Linked DNA regions of Homo sapiens: region 1 is linked to region 2. Evidence: promoter capture Hi-C in human tissues and cell types (Jung and others, 2019). All regions are on one chromosome and are shown on one strand. The core of a region is centred on a gene start or on the middle of the fragment in contact, and the rest is flanking DNA. Distances in the headings are between cores, read along the strand shown. Region 1 has its middle 26 kb from the start of ANXA4. Region 2 holds the start of SNRPG (small nuclear ribonucleoprotein polypeptide G).

Region 1 (6,265 bases), core at 1,242-3,741, 580 kb after region 2:
GAATGTGTGTGTATGTGTGTGTATGCATGTATGTGTGTGCATTTGTGTATGCATGTGTGTGCATGTGTGCGCATGTGCATGCATGCATGTGTATACGTGTGTACATGTTTGTGTATGCATGTGTGTGCTGTGGATAGGGCTGGTGGGAGAGAAGGAAACCCCAAAGCACAAGAAGCAGCAGGTATAAAGCCCTGGAGCCAAAGAAGTCATGACAGGTTCTGGAAAGTGTAAGTAATTCCACAAGTCTGAACCTGAGTGATTCTATGACCTCTTCCAGTGACCTCAAATTCTGGCTAAGCATTTCCCAAACGTAGCTGAAATAGTATCTACTTGAGAAAGTTGAATATAATTTAGTTCCTGGCTGGTGTATTACATCCCCCCAAGAATCTCTTAAGAGATTGTCAGGTAAAGAAGGAAGGGTGAAATGACAAACATCCAGAGGGTGGGGGTGCCATTTATATTGCAATCCATCTCCCAGTGGTAGCCTTCTTTGGGAATTCTGACCAGCTGGGGGGACCTTTCCCCACAGGTTCAAGCTTTTGTCTAGCAAATCTGGGGTCCTCACTTCTGTTATGTAGATGGGAAGCAAGGTTCTCCTGGGGTTACACAGCAGGAACTTGACATTTGGAGAATGTGATTGATGAGTTCTGTCCTCCCACAGAGAAGTCCCATGGTGAGAGAGGGCTCTAGAAGCCAAGTAGCCAGGGGACTTTCCAAACTAAACATCTGCTATGAAATGCAGACCGCACTGAGCTATGCCTGACCTAGCTAGACATACAGCCTTAGGGTATCAAGCATCTCCCTAGCCAGGGTTTCCCCATTAAAACTATTCCTTTTAATTCCAGCTTTCTTACTTAGAGGACCCCTGCTGAAACATTCTAGAGGGAAGGGAGTGCATAGGTTGTGTACGTCTCTTAGTTTGCCTGTCATCTGGTAGAAAGCCAAGGCCCATAGGGATCCAGGCACATTCTAGTTTAGTTAGTGCCTGAAACAAGCAAACTGGATGAGGTACCAGTCCCAGGCATCAGGAAGGCTCAGGGCATCTGCTGCAGAGGCAAGGCTTTGTGGGGAGGGGTCACAGGGAACAACATATTCCAAAGAAGATGAAACAAAGAAAAGCAAAGTTTCCAGTTAGATACGTGGAGTTAAAGAGGAAATGGCGGTAACAGAAAGATGCAGCGACGGGTAATTCCAGAAATGAAAAGGATGGGACATCAGGCCTTTCTGCTTCAACTCAAAGTCAGATCCCTTGAACTCACAAAATAATATTGGCTGATACCCTGGAGAGGGAGGCCTTTGTTACCCTCATTTATGATGCAGGAATAATGATCAAATGCCACCTGCTTGTGTCGATGAGCCAGGCCTGACAATTAAAGGGTGGGCGCCAGGATGGGCTTTGGGAGTGTGGGATGAAAGGCACTGGATGAGAACAAAGGGGCCATGGTGGGAGTTTTCCAGCACCAGCCTCAGTTTTCTGCACAGAAGCCTCCTGCCACCTCAATGCCAGCTTTGAAGGCATAGGCAGGCAAAGAAAACCAACAAGCCAAACAAAATGCATATGGATGCTTTTAAATGGGCATGTTCCTATTCAGTGGGCATGAATTGGAGAATATTCATCTTCAGCCACCTCCTGCACCCTCAGGGCGTCAGCTCCTCCTTCCAGGACCACTGAAGAGATGGAGCCCCCACCCCAGCCCCTCTGCTACACGATGCTGCTTTACGGTCTCCCCTGCACTTCCCTTGTTTCTTGATTGGTTTCTCTGGTTATCATCTGTTTTGTCTTGCCACAGTGTGATGCCAGGGAGCAGAGGCTGGACGGTGTTCTCCTCCACACAGTGCTTGGCCAGTAGTAGGCAGACAGCAAACAGCTGAATTGATGACTCAGAAAAACTTAAACATCGCCAACTCTGTCATCTCTTTTAGTAAACCTACTGGACAATTCCATTTAAATGTATGATACTTACTTCAAACTGCACATGAACAAAACACAACTCTTTTCGTTCTTGCCCTCCCCTCTGGCCAATGACCAAGTCAAAAACGTCGAGTCATTTTCCATCCTGAGCTCTTCACCTGGATTCCCGGAGCAGCCTCATAACTAATCCGCTGCCCTCCTGTTGTGCTGTCTCTCAGACCCGTTCTCCCGAGTGATCTTCTCAAAACGAGCTTGAGCATGTCACACCACTGCTTGAAACCCTTTGGGGGCTCCCTGTCGCCCTCACATAAAGACCAAACATTTTAACCTGACAAACAAGGCCTTCCCTGATGTGGCTCTCGCCCGTCTCTCCAACCCCCTCTGCACATCTCAGCTCAAGTCATCCTGAGCTGCTCGCAGTTCCTCGAGTGCAGCTGCTGTTACGTTCACCCTCTGCCTCTCCTCTTATCTTTCTGGTGAATCCCTTTTTTCCTGGTTCACCTGTTCTATGAAGACTTTTTTTGACCAGTATTGTATTTCTCAGGACTCTTGACTTTAAGGGACAGAAACCCAACACAAACTAGCTTCAGTTAAAAGGGGATGTATTAACTCATTTAAGTAAGGACTAGACAGAGCCACCACAGGAATGGCTAGATCCAGACACCCAAACAATGCTGTCAGCTCTCTCTCTCTCTCTTACTCATATGTACATGTATTTTGGCTTCTTATTATGAGTTGGTCTCATCCTTTCTTGCTAGAGGAGACTGTACTCACAGAGAACTCTAGACTTACATACAGTTTGATCACTCCAGGAGAGAGTGAGGCTTCTTTCTCCCAGTCTCAGGTTATTAAAATTATGGGAAAGGCTAAGAGTAGCCTGGCTGGTGACGTGTGCCCAGCACTTGGCCCATGACTAGAGGGACAGTGTTGTGATTGACCATGCCTTGGACTCTCTTTCTTGACCTAGGAAGAAAGAATGGGTATTCCTCTTGAGGGAGCAGCTGCCAGATAAAAGAGGGAGTCTGTTATCACATAAAGAGGGTAGACCACTGATGTCTCCTTCTTACCCCTCCCTCCACCTCCATTTATGTTCCCACTGCCCTCTGTGCATAGGCACAGAAGGGGACAAAACACATTTTGGACTCAGATAGACATAGAGCCAGTTACTGGCTTTATAGTAACTATGTGACTTTGGGAATGTTTTAAGCCTCTTCGTGCCTCTGCATTTGCATCTGTACAATGTTTTAGGGATGTGTTGTGAGGGTTAAAAACCTAGGCAAATTATCTGGGACATAGTAGGTACTATGGCAGTCATAACAATTATATTTGACCATCTCCCTTTTCTAAACCATGATTTGGCCAGGCGTGATGGCTTATGCCTGTAATCCCAGCACTTTGGGAGGCCGAGGTGGGAGGATCACTTGAGACCAGGAGTTCAAGACCAGCCTGGCCAATATGGTGAAACCCCGTCTCTACTAAAAATACAAAAAGTAGCCAGGCATGGTGGTGCGTACCTGTAATCCCAGCTACTTGGGAGGCTGAGGTGAGAATCGCTTGAACCCAGGAGGGGGAGGTTGTGGTGAGAGGAGATTGCACCACTGCACTCCAGCCTGGGTGACAGAGCGAGACTCCATTTCAAAAAATAAATAAATAAAATAAAATAAAAAACAAACCATGATTTGCTTGAGGCAGGGCCTTATTTTAGGCAAAATTTAACTTGGTTATAAGAGCAGGGCTCAAATATATGATGGATTGATTTCTGTCCACTGAAACAGGATGATACTGAAAGATAAGGCAAGTTTTGCAGATGAGGGAGATATTCAGTTCTGTCTTCTTCAATCTTGGCTTTATGATACTGGCCCATTGTTATTATGTAGTCTTCTGTTTCAAGCTCTCCAAAGCATCTCCACATCTGTTACTTGACTTCACTGTGTCACCCTGGAGGGAGGACCTTGCGTTAGGCTTCATGAACAGATCTGATGAGGTATCCACAAGACACAAGGTTAACCAAGAATGGGCAGCAGGGGGCGTTGTGGACAAGCCCCGGGGAAGCCAAGGGAAAAACTGCAGAGGTTCTGAACCTAGACCTGCCCAACGTCCTGCTGACCGACTCAGGCACCTCCGGACCTGGGTGTCTGGCTATTGATTGGGTACATGCTGAAGCACGCTTGCCTCCCAGGGCATCCCATCACAAATTAGGCCCCAGCTCTGGGATCTGGCCCAACGCAGGCCCTCTCCCATGTATAGGAGCTGTGGGGACAACACAGGAGGTTAATGGGAGCTCGGCCAGGATCCCAGGAAATAAAGCACTGAGGTTTGATACACTGATGGGCACACTGTGGACAGCAGGCTGGCTGGACTGGGGCAGGTGGAGTGTTATGTGAGTTTTCGGTCACGTGCCCTCGCCGAAGCCCCGTCTCTTATATTCTTAGGCTTCCTTCGGCTTCGGTTGCCAGGAGTAGGTGCTTGTATTCTATAGAGTCGTTTATATTTGAAATCCTGCATGGATGCATTTGGTCCTCACCGCATCCTTCCTCCCTTCCGGAAACTGTACGCTCCCCTCCTTAGAAGGTCACTTCTCCACTCCATGGGGTTCTGGTGGGGCTCCCAGAATGTGCCCACATCTCCACCCTTACCCCACCCCCCGGCCCACCCAGCCACTGGAGGTGGGAAAGAGCTAGGGCTTGTCAGAAGGCAGACCTTGAAGGAGAAGAGCCTCCCAGTAGGGAGGTCAGGAATGTGCTCAAAATCCAGGCTCAGATGTCTTCAAAAGCCTGGAGAGATGTCACCCACCAGGCACTGTGGTCTTTGGCAACTCATGTGGGACAGAGGTGTAGACTAAAGAATGTTCTGCCCCATTCTCTTGCGGAGGACAGAGCAAGGGAGAGTAGAGCTCCTTCCATATTCGAATTTCCCTTTCTCCTCTTCACGGCAGGGAGTCCGACCTTTGTGTTCCTCCATCAAGTGGAATTTGTGCTGCAGGGTAGACAGCGAAAGCTGCTGAGGCATAACCGTTTTTCCCCCATTCTTTCTTTTTGTGAAAGGCAAAACTCCTCAAAGTCCTAAACTGTTAAGAGAGTTAGGTGCCCCAAGAGGAGACGGGAGAGCGGTGATGCCTTCAGGGCAGCAGCAGAAGCAATGGAAGGATGGATGAGGAACCCCACAAAGGGGAGAGAACTCTGGAGTCTGTGAAGAGCGGGGAGCTGAGACCCAACTCGTTATGTTACGGGTTGTGTGTTGCTGGATCCGGCAGGTAACAGCTTGCTGGACTGAATGTTAAAGTCTCAAGAGTTTTACAAACTGATTGACTTTACTTTTTAAATTGGCTTTATTGAGGTGTACAATTTACATACTTGGAAGCAGCTATGGTAGAAGTGTTTTTACACCATGGAGATTGGCACATACTACAATTCAGGGCTTTCTCTCTGCCCCAGAGCCAGCTGCTAAACATTTACCAGCACACCACCGAACATAAGAGTGGCTTCTTCCAATCTTATCATCCACATATCGCTTCTTCCTTGGGGAGAATGAGTGACAAGAATGGGAGGGAGAGGGCCAGAAAGTGTGTTACACCAATAGCACTCCCCTGAAAATGGAGTAGAGGTTCTTCATGGAAACAAAGAATGGAGATAGAGGGGCTCCCTCTACCTTCCTTCCATCCTTTCATTTTCTTTTTTTTTTTACTTCATAATAATGACTATACTGAAGATTTCAGGAAAGAATAGGAGGCAGCAGGGTGGTGGTTGAGAGTAAGGCTTTGGAGTCAGATGGCATTTGGGTTCCCACAGCAGCTCTGCCACTCTCTAGTTGTGTGGTGTTGTATAAAGTGAGCAAGGTCAGAGTGGGAAGTATTGTTGTATGTATTTAGGGTAGAAGCCAGTCCACTCTGGTCATCTGAGCTCTGTTGGGGATCTTCATTGGCCCCAAAGAGTCCTGTTTTCATCTTCTCTGAGCCACTGCAATGAATGAATGGTGGTAGGCGTCCACAAACCTGGTGCACAAAATGTGGATAGGATTTAGGTGATATCTTCACAACTCAAGAAGAACCCAGGCTTCAACAGTCCAAGAAGCTGTAATCTCCTTCTTCTAGGCACATCTGAAAACAAAATGCCAAATGGGAGGTCCTGTTGCTAATGTTGGTCCTCCAGTTCTTTACGAGGGAGTGGGTAGATCCCATGGCCTGTCTGAATGTCACTTTCCTCATCCATAGGGTAGAAATGACAGGATAACCTCATTATCTTTTGTGAATCCATATTAAAAGGCCCAGAACCATTGCAAATTTGTTACTGAAACTTTCTGGAGTTCCCCAGTTGGATCCAATTAGGATCATTACTGAGATGGTTGTCTCCCCTA
Region 2 (6,127 bases), core at 2,624-5,123:
TCACACTACCATGTCCCTTTAATTGACCAAGATAATACATATTAAACCTGTAGCACAGGGCCTAACACATAATGAGCACGCAGTAAATGGAGGCCTTACTCTCAGCTTTTTCTACGTTCTTCCTTCTTGCCACAGGACCGCCTGGCCCGGTGCACCATGCATTGCAACGACAAAGCCAAAGATTCAATAGATGCTGGGAGTAAGGAGCTTCAGGTGAAGCAGCAGCTGGACAGTTGTGTGACCAAGTGTGTGGATGACCACATGCACCTCATCCCAACTATGACCAAGAAGATGAAGGAGGCTCTCTTATCAATTGGAAAATAAAAGTATTTGCCAGTGGCCATCAGGGCTGAGGGCAAGAATATATTTTTTATAAGGAATTGGGAATTTTAGTCTTTTAAGCAAAGTTTACGAATGAAGAAATGAAGGATGGCCACAAGCGTAAGGCATATGTCACTTGCCTCTGGACACTGGTTATTTTATGTTTCAGTCCCTAAAAAATGAAATGGAAAAAAGTGGTGCTAAATCGAGTCAGAGATATTACAGGAGAGTTTTAGAGCTTATTATTTCCTGTGGCCAGTGCTTGTCCTGGCAGTAAGGCTTTCCCCTGTAACAAGCCAGAGCCCTCCAAGGTACCAGACTCTTCTTACTACACAGGTACTAACAGGCTGGCAGGTTAGAGTTGGTGGAGTCTGAGGAGAGATATTTTCTCTTTGTTGCCAACATCCTGTTTACCAAAAGTGTCACCCCACCATCTTCCATAAGCTGTGAAACAAAATCAATGAGGTCACTAACTTAGAAGGGAAAGAAAGTTTTCTGGGTCTTTGTTTTCTTGATTTGGGGTAATTTATACAAGGGCATACAAGTTGATTTTAAGATGTGGAACTGGGAGGTAGACTAGTTTGGATAAGAACTTTGAAATGTTCCTTGTGGATCCCCATTTCTGGTCATCAAGATGTGGATGTACATTTCTTAAAATTATTACATGCTGCATCTTTCAGCCTGGAGACTGTGCAGAAACATGAGAGGTGATGACACACTAATTATGGGAAGCAGAATTACTGGCTGATGGCCCCTGAGGCTGTGTGTAACAAAATGACAGGACAATCTTGCAGTAACACTTTCCCCTTGAAGAGAAGGGGGTTTTGATTGTGATATATACTAGTATCTAGGAATGAACAGTAAAAGAGGAGCAGTTGGCTACTTGATTACAACAGAGTAAATGAAGTACTGGATTTGGGAAAACCTGGTTTTATTAGAACATATGGAATGAAAGCCTACACCTAGCATTGCCTACTTAGCCCCCTGAATTAACAGAGCCCAATTGAGACAAACCCCTGGCAACAGGAAATTCAAGGGAGAAAAAGTAAGCAACTTGGGCTAGGATGAGCTGACTCCCTTAGAGCAAAGGAGAGACAGCCCCCATTACCAAATACCATTTTTGCCTGGGGCTTGTGCAGCTGGCAGTGTTCCTGCCCCAGCATGGCACCTTATTGTTTTGATAGCAACTTCGTTGAATTTTCACCAACTTATTACTTGAAATTATAATATAGCCTGTCCGTTTGCTGTTTCCAGGCTGTGATATATTTTCCTAGTGGTTTGACTTTAAAAATAAATAAGGTTTAATTTTCTCCCCACTATTGAGTCTTCTTTCCTTATATCTGGGTGGTGAATATGTAACTTTCTCAGGATGCTTCTCCTTTTAACAGGTTAAATGAGTTAAAATGTCCAGAAGAGTGGAAATTAGTTGTTATGGTTCAGATGCAGAACTGGTTCACTGTAAATGGGAAAAACTTTGAGAGGAGACTAGGACATTGTGACTTGAAGTTCATTAATGTAGAAAAGAAACTGTCTATGAGGCTAAAAAGAGAAATTCATTATCTATGTCAGGTCTCTAGCTTCAACTAAACACTAATAGCAAGTGGTAGTAAAGGTACAAAGCTATGACCCTGCTAGAAAAAATTCAGTGTCTAGGATTTTGAGTACTAAGAGAGTGCAAAATATGTGATGAGTTTAAGTCTTTACTATCATTGATATTTATATAGAGCCATTCCAGAATATCAGGAATTAACTGAATTTTTGAGAACTATCCCCTATTTAAACACAAGGTATTCTATTTTGGTTTAGTCTTCTATAATTTTGGGGTAACAACTGGGAACAAGTCCGAGACCACTTTTTACACATCTTGACATGAAAAAAGAACACCTTATATTAGAAAATGTTTGTGTGCTGCACTTCACATTTTATATACAGGGGCAATAGCACATCAGTGAGTTCTGGAGGTAGTGTTTGAAAAATTTCAGAATTCCCAGGCATGCTGGCTAACCCCTGTAATCTCAGCACTTTGGGAGCCGGAGGCAGGCAGATCTCTTGAGGCCAGGAATTTGAGAACAGCCTGGGCAACAAAGCAAGACCTCGTCTCTACAAAAAAAAATTAGCTGGGTGCAGTGGCGTGCGCCTGTAGTCTCAACAACTCAGGAGGCTGAGGTGGAAGGATTGCTTGAGGCCAGGAGTTCGAGGTTGCAGTGAGCCATGATCACACCATGCTCCCCAGCCTAGGCGACAGAGCAAGAACTCATCTCAAAAAAAATTTTTTTTGCAAGACCCCTCAGTCAGAAATAGATTCAAATTCTTGGAGACAGACCCAGTCACCTTACTCTACAATGGTTCAGAGGCTGCTAATTTACATGTTACGGGAACCCTACTTGGTCTGACAGTATGCTGTAGGGTTACCTGCCAAAAAAATATAGAGGCCCAGCCGGGAGCGGGGGCTCACGCCTGTAATCCCAGCACTTTGGGAGGCCGAGGCCAGCGGATCACGAGGTCAGGAGATCAAGACCATCCTGGCTAACACAGTGAAATACGGTGTCTACTAAAAATACAAAAAATCAGCCCGGCGTGGTGGCGGGCACCTGTTGTCCCAGCTACTCGGGAGGCTGAGGCAGGAGAATGGCGTGAACCCGGGAGGCAGAGCTTGCAGTGAGCCGAGATCGCGCCACTGCACTCCAGCCTGGGCGACAGAGCAAGACTCCGTCTCAAAAAAATATACATATATAGAGAGAGGCCCATTCCTCCAGGGATCATTATCATTTGGTATATTGGTATATATGAAGAAAATAAGCGATACGATCCACAGACATGCGGGATTGGCCGGGTTTGCCCAGGAGCTAGAGACGGGACCGTTATCTCAATATCTCAATTTTATTTTTTAAATAGAGAAGGGGTCTCGCTATGTTGCACAGGCTGGTCTCGAACTCCTGGGCTCAAGAGATCCAAAGTTCTGGGATTTACGGCGCCCGGCTTTTTTTATTTATTTATTTATTTTTATTTATTTTGGCTGTTCCATAGACAAGAGCAGGGATAACCGGCTGGGCGCGGTAGCTCACGCCTGTAATCCTAGCACTTTGGGAGGCCGAGGCGGGCGGATAACGAGGTCAGGAGATCGAGACCATCCTGGCTAACACGGCGAAACCCCGTCTCTACTAAAAAATACACAAAATTAGCCGGGCATGGTGGCGGGCGCCTGTAGTCCCAGCTATTCGGGTGGCTGAGGCAGGAGAATGGCGTGAGGCCGGGAGGCGGAGCTTGCAGTGAGCCGAGATCGCGCCACTGCACTCCAGCCTGGGCGACAGAGCTAGACTCCGTCTCAAAAAGAAAAGAAAAAGAGCAGGGATACCCACCGGTGGAATACCCGTTATCTCAATTTTGTACAAGGAAAACGGAATTCAGAAAGGTGCCTAGAGGACGCACCCCTCCGTCCTGGCCAATCGCTGAGGACATAACCGGAAGCTCAACGATGACCGAGGCGCTGAGATATCGCGAGGTGAAATGTAAAAACTGCCAACAATCCATTGGCTAACGAGGTCGATGACGCCAGACGCAAGACGCCGGGCCTACAGCGGGAGCGTGAGGAAAGCCGTGCGTTGCGTTCCAAGGCATCTGTGAGCCCGCGGAGTATACACCATGAGCAAAGCTCACCCTCCCGAGTTGAAAAAGTAAGTATGTGTGAGAGCCAAACCGAAGTGGTCAGTTATTTGCGTCCTGCGAGTCCCTTGGTTCCCTCTCCGTTAGCCGAATGTCTTGAGCCGCTTCACTTCATTTCTTCTTCCGGTCCGAGGTCGCCGGGATCCCGGCCAGGCTCCCGCGCATGAGACGTGAAGCCCGCGCAGAGCTCGCGCGTCGGTGTGGTTACAGCCGGCAGCCACGGCACCTCCTTCCGGCCGACTAGTCTCCAGGTCCCGCGGTCTGGCCCCTGGTCACCCGGCGCTGTCCCTCGTTCCTTGAAGATCTCCAGTGCTACCTTTTGTTGAACATCTCGAATAGTATCATGTTCTAGATAGACGGCTAGAGGGGGAAATTCTCTGAAGGAACTAAGGAGGGGCTGGAAGGGAAGGAAGTGTTTTTAAAACTACGTGAGGCATCAGAATCCGAAAGCCACTTTAGTCTTAGCAAATGTGTTTGTAGGTGTTTGAGCTTTTACTTAGAAACCTCATTCCTTTTTCTTGCCTTCTTTTACGTTAAGCTTGAATGTCATGTGTTATCTTGCTCTGATGTTGAAACTATATAAGAACATTCATTTTTCTTTTTTTTTAAGAACATTAATTTTTTCTAGTCAGAGAAGGCTAATTTTTTGAAGTTTTTTCTACACACCCAGTAAAGTCAAACAACTTTAAGTAGGAGAGCCTTACTTTAGGTAGGACTCAACGTAAAGCTTTGAATTCCTCAAATACTTTTTGAGTGGACTTAACAGGTTATGTGTTTCCTGACTACGTTTCTGTTTTGCTTATACTTCCTGATGCTGGAATTCTACATGTATTAGTTGGATTGCACAAAGGATGCAAAATTTTTACAGGGATCAGTTTTTTCTGGCGTAGCATGTGGTTGGCTTTGTGTATAGTTAGTTCATTTATTACCAGGCCCATGGAAGTCAGACAAAAGGTAAAGTTCCTATTTAATAATTTTGCGGCCGGGCACAGTGGCTCACGCCTGTAATCCCAGCACTTTGGGAGGCTGAGGCGGGAGGATCACCTGAGGTCAGGAGTTCGAGACCAGCCTGGCCAACATGGTGAAACCCCCGTCTCTACTAAAAATACAAAAAATTAGCCAGGCAGGTGGTGTGCGCCTGTAGTCTCAGCTATTCCGGAGGTTGAGGCAGGAGAATCGCTTGAACCCGGGAAGCGGAGGTTGCAGTGAGTCAAGATCGCGCCATTGCCCTCCAGCCTGGGTAACAAGACCGAAACTCTGTTTCAAAAAATAATAATATTTTTGCATTTAAAGGTCCATTTGTATCAAAGCCATCTTTTGTATGAAAACTACTTCTATGTATATTTTAGTTAGGTCTGTTAAGGAATTAATTATTAAAACATAAGCCCAACGCGGTGGCTCACGCCTGTAATCCCAGCACTTTGGGAGGCCGAGGCGGGCGGATCACGAGGTCAGGAGATGGAGATCATCATGGCTAAAACGGTGAAACCCCGTGTCTATAAAAATACAAAAAATTACGTGGGCTTGGTGGCGGGCGCTTGTAGTCCCAGCTACTCGGGAGGCTGAGGCAGGAGAATGGCGTGAACCCGGGAGGCGGAGCTTGCAGTGAGCCGAGATCGCGCCACTGCACTCCAGCCTGGGCAACAGAGCGAGACTCCGTCTCAAAAAAAAAAAAAAAAATAGAAGTTACTCAGAAATTATTGTGAAAATTACTCTTTTTATCTGAAAGTTATTTTTGGTGATGTAAGTATCCTCTGGATTCATCAGGGACTGGTGAAATGGTGATTTTTTTTTTTTTAACAAAAAGACCATTCTCTACTTGTAATCTAAGATTTTCTTTCTGATTCATAACATAGTTTTTGAAAATTTCAGAGAAGGAAGCTAGTTTTAATACCTTTCTCTTCCTCGTAGGTTTCATGAATTGTGAAATCCGGTCAGATCTGCCGCCAAAATGACTTAAAAATTTTTTCTTCCTCTGCTTTCTCACAGATAGCATCTTCTTTTACACCATTATGCCCTCCTTCTGGTGTAGCATAACTCAGGTGTTCTTAAATGGGGAGTAGGGAATCTGGTGCTACCGGCTTCTAGTGAGTAGACACCAGGGTGCTGCTAAACATCCTACTGCTTATTCGACTGCCCCCAA

The links. Contacts are between HindIII fragments. The study calls those that stand out against the background at their distance.
Region 1: a fragment that was not itself captured here is called in contact with the fragment with the promoter of SNRPG in region 2 in 1 of the 25 tissues and cell types used here (spleen).

Annotation. Positions count from the first base shown.
Region 1 is chr2:69,712,512-69,718,776 of GRCh38, reverse strand. It overlaps a transcript of ANXA4 not described here. Among named protein-coding and RNA genes, the nearest start is that of ANXA4, 26 kb to the left of the region's middle. The HindIII fragment of the contact is 4,609 bases long and covers 187-4,795 here.
Region 2 is chr2:70,291,486-70,297,612 of GRCh38, reverse strand. It overlaps SNRPG (small nuclear ribonucleoprotein polypeptide G), which reads left to right and starts at 3,873. Exons shown (of 4, transcript NM_003096.4): 1 at 3,873-3,995. The coding sequence starts at 3,964. LOC124906023 (a long non-coding RNA gene) reads right to left here and starts at 3,711. Exons shown (of 2, transcript XR_007086880.1): 1 at 3,681-3,711; 2 at 1,599-2,555. It overlaps FAM136A (family with sequence similarity 136 member A), which reads left to right. Exons shown (of 3, transcript NM_001329752.2): 3 at 136-1,637. The coding sequence ends at 324. RefSeq lists enhancers at 3,712-4,191, 4,208-5,115. The HindIII fragment of the contact is 9,687 bases long and covers 187-6,127 here.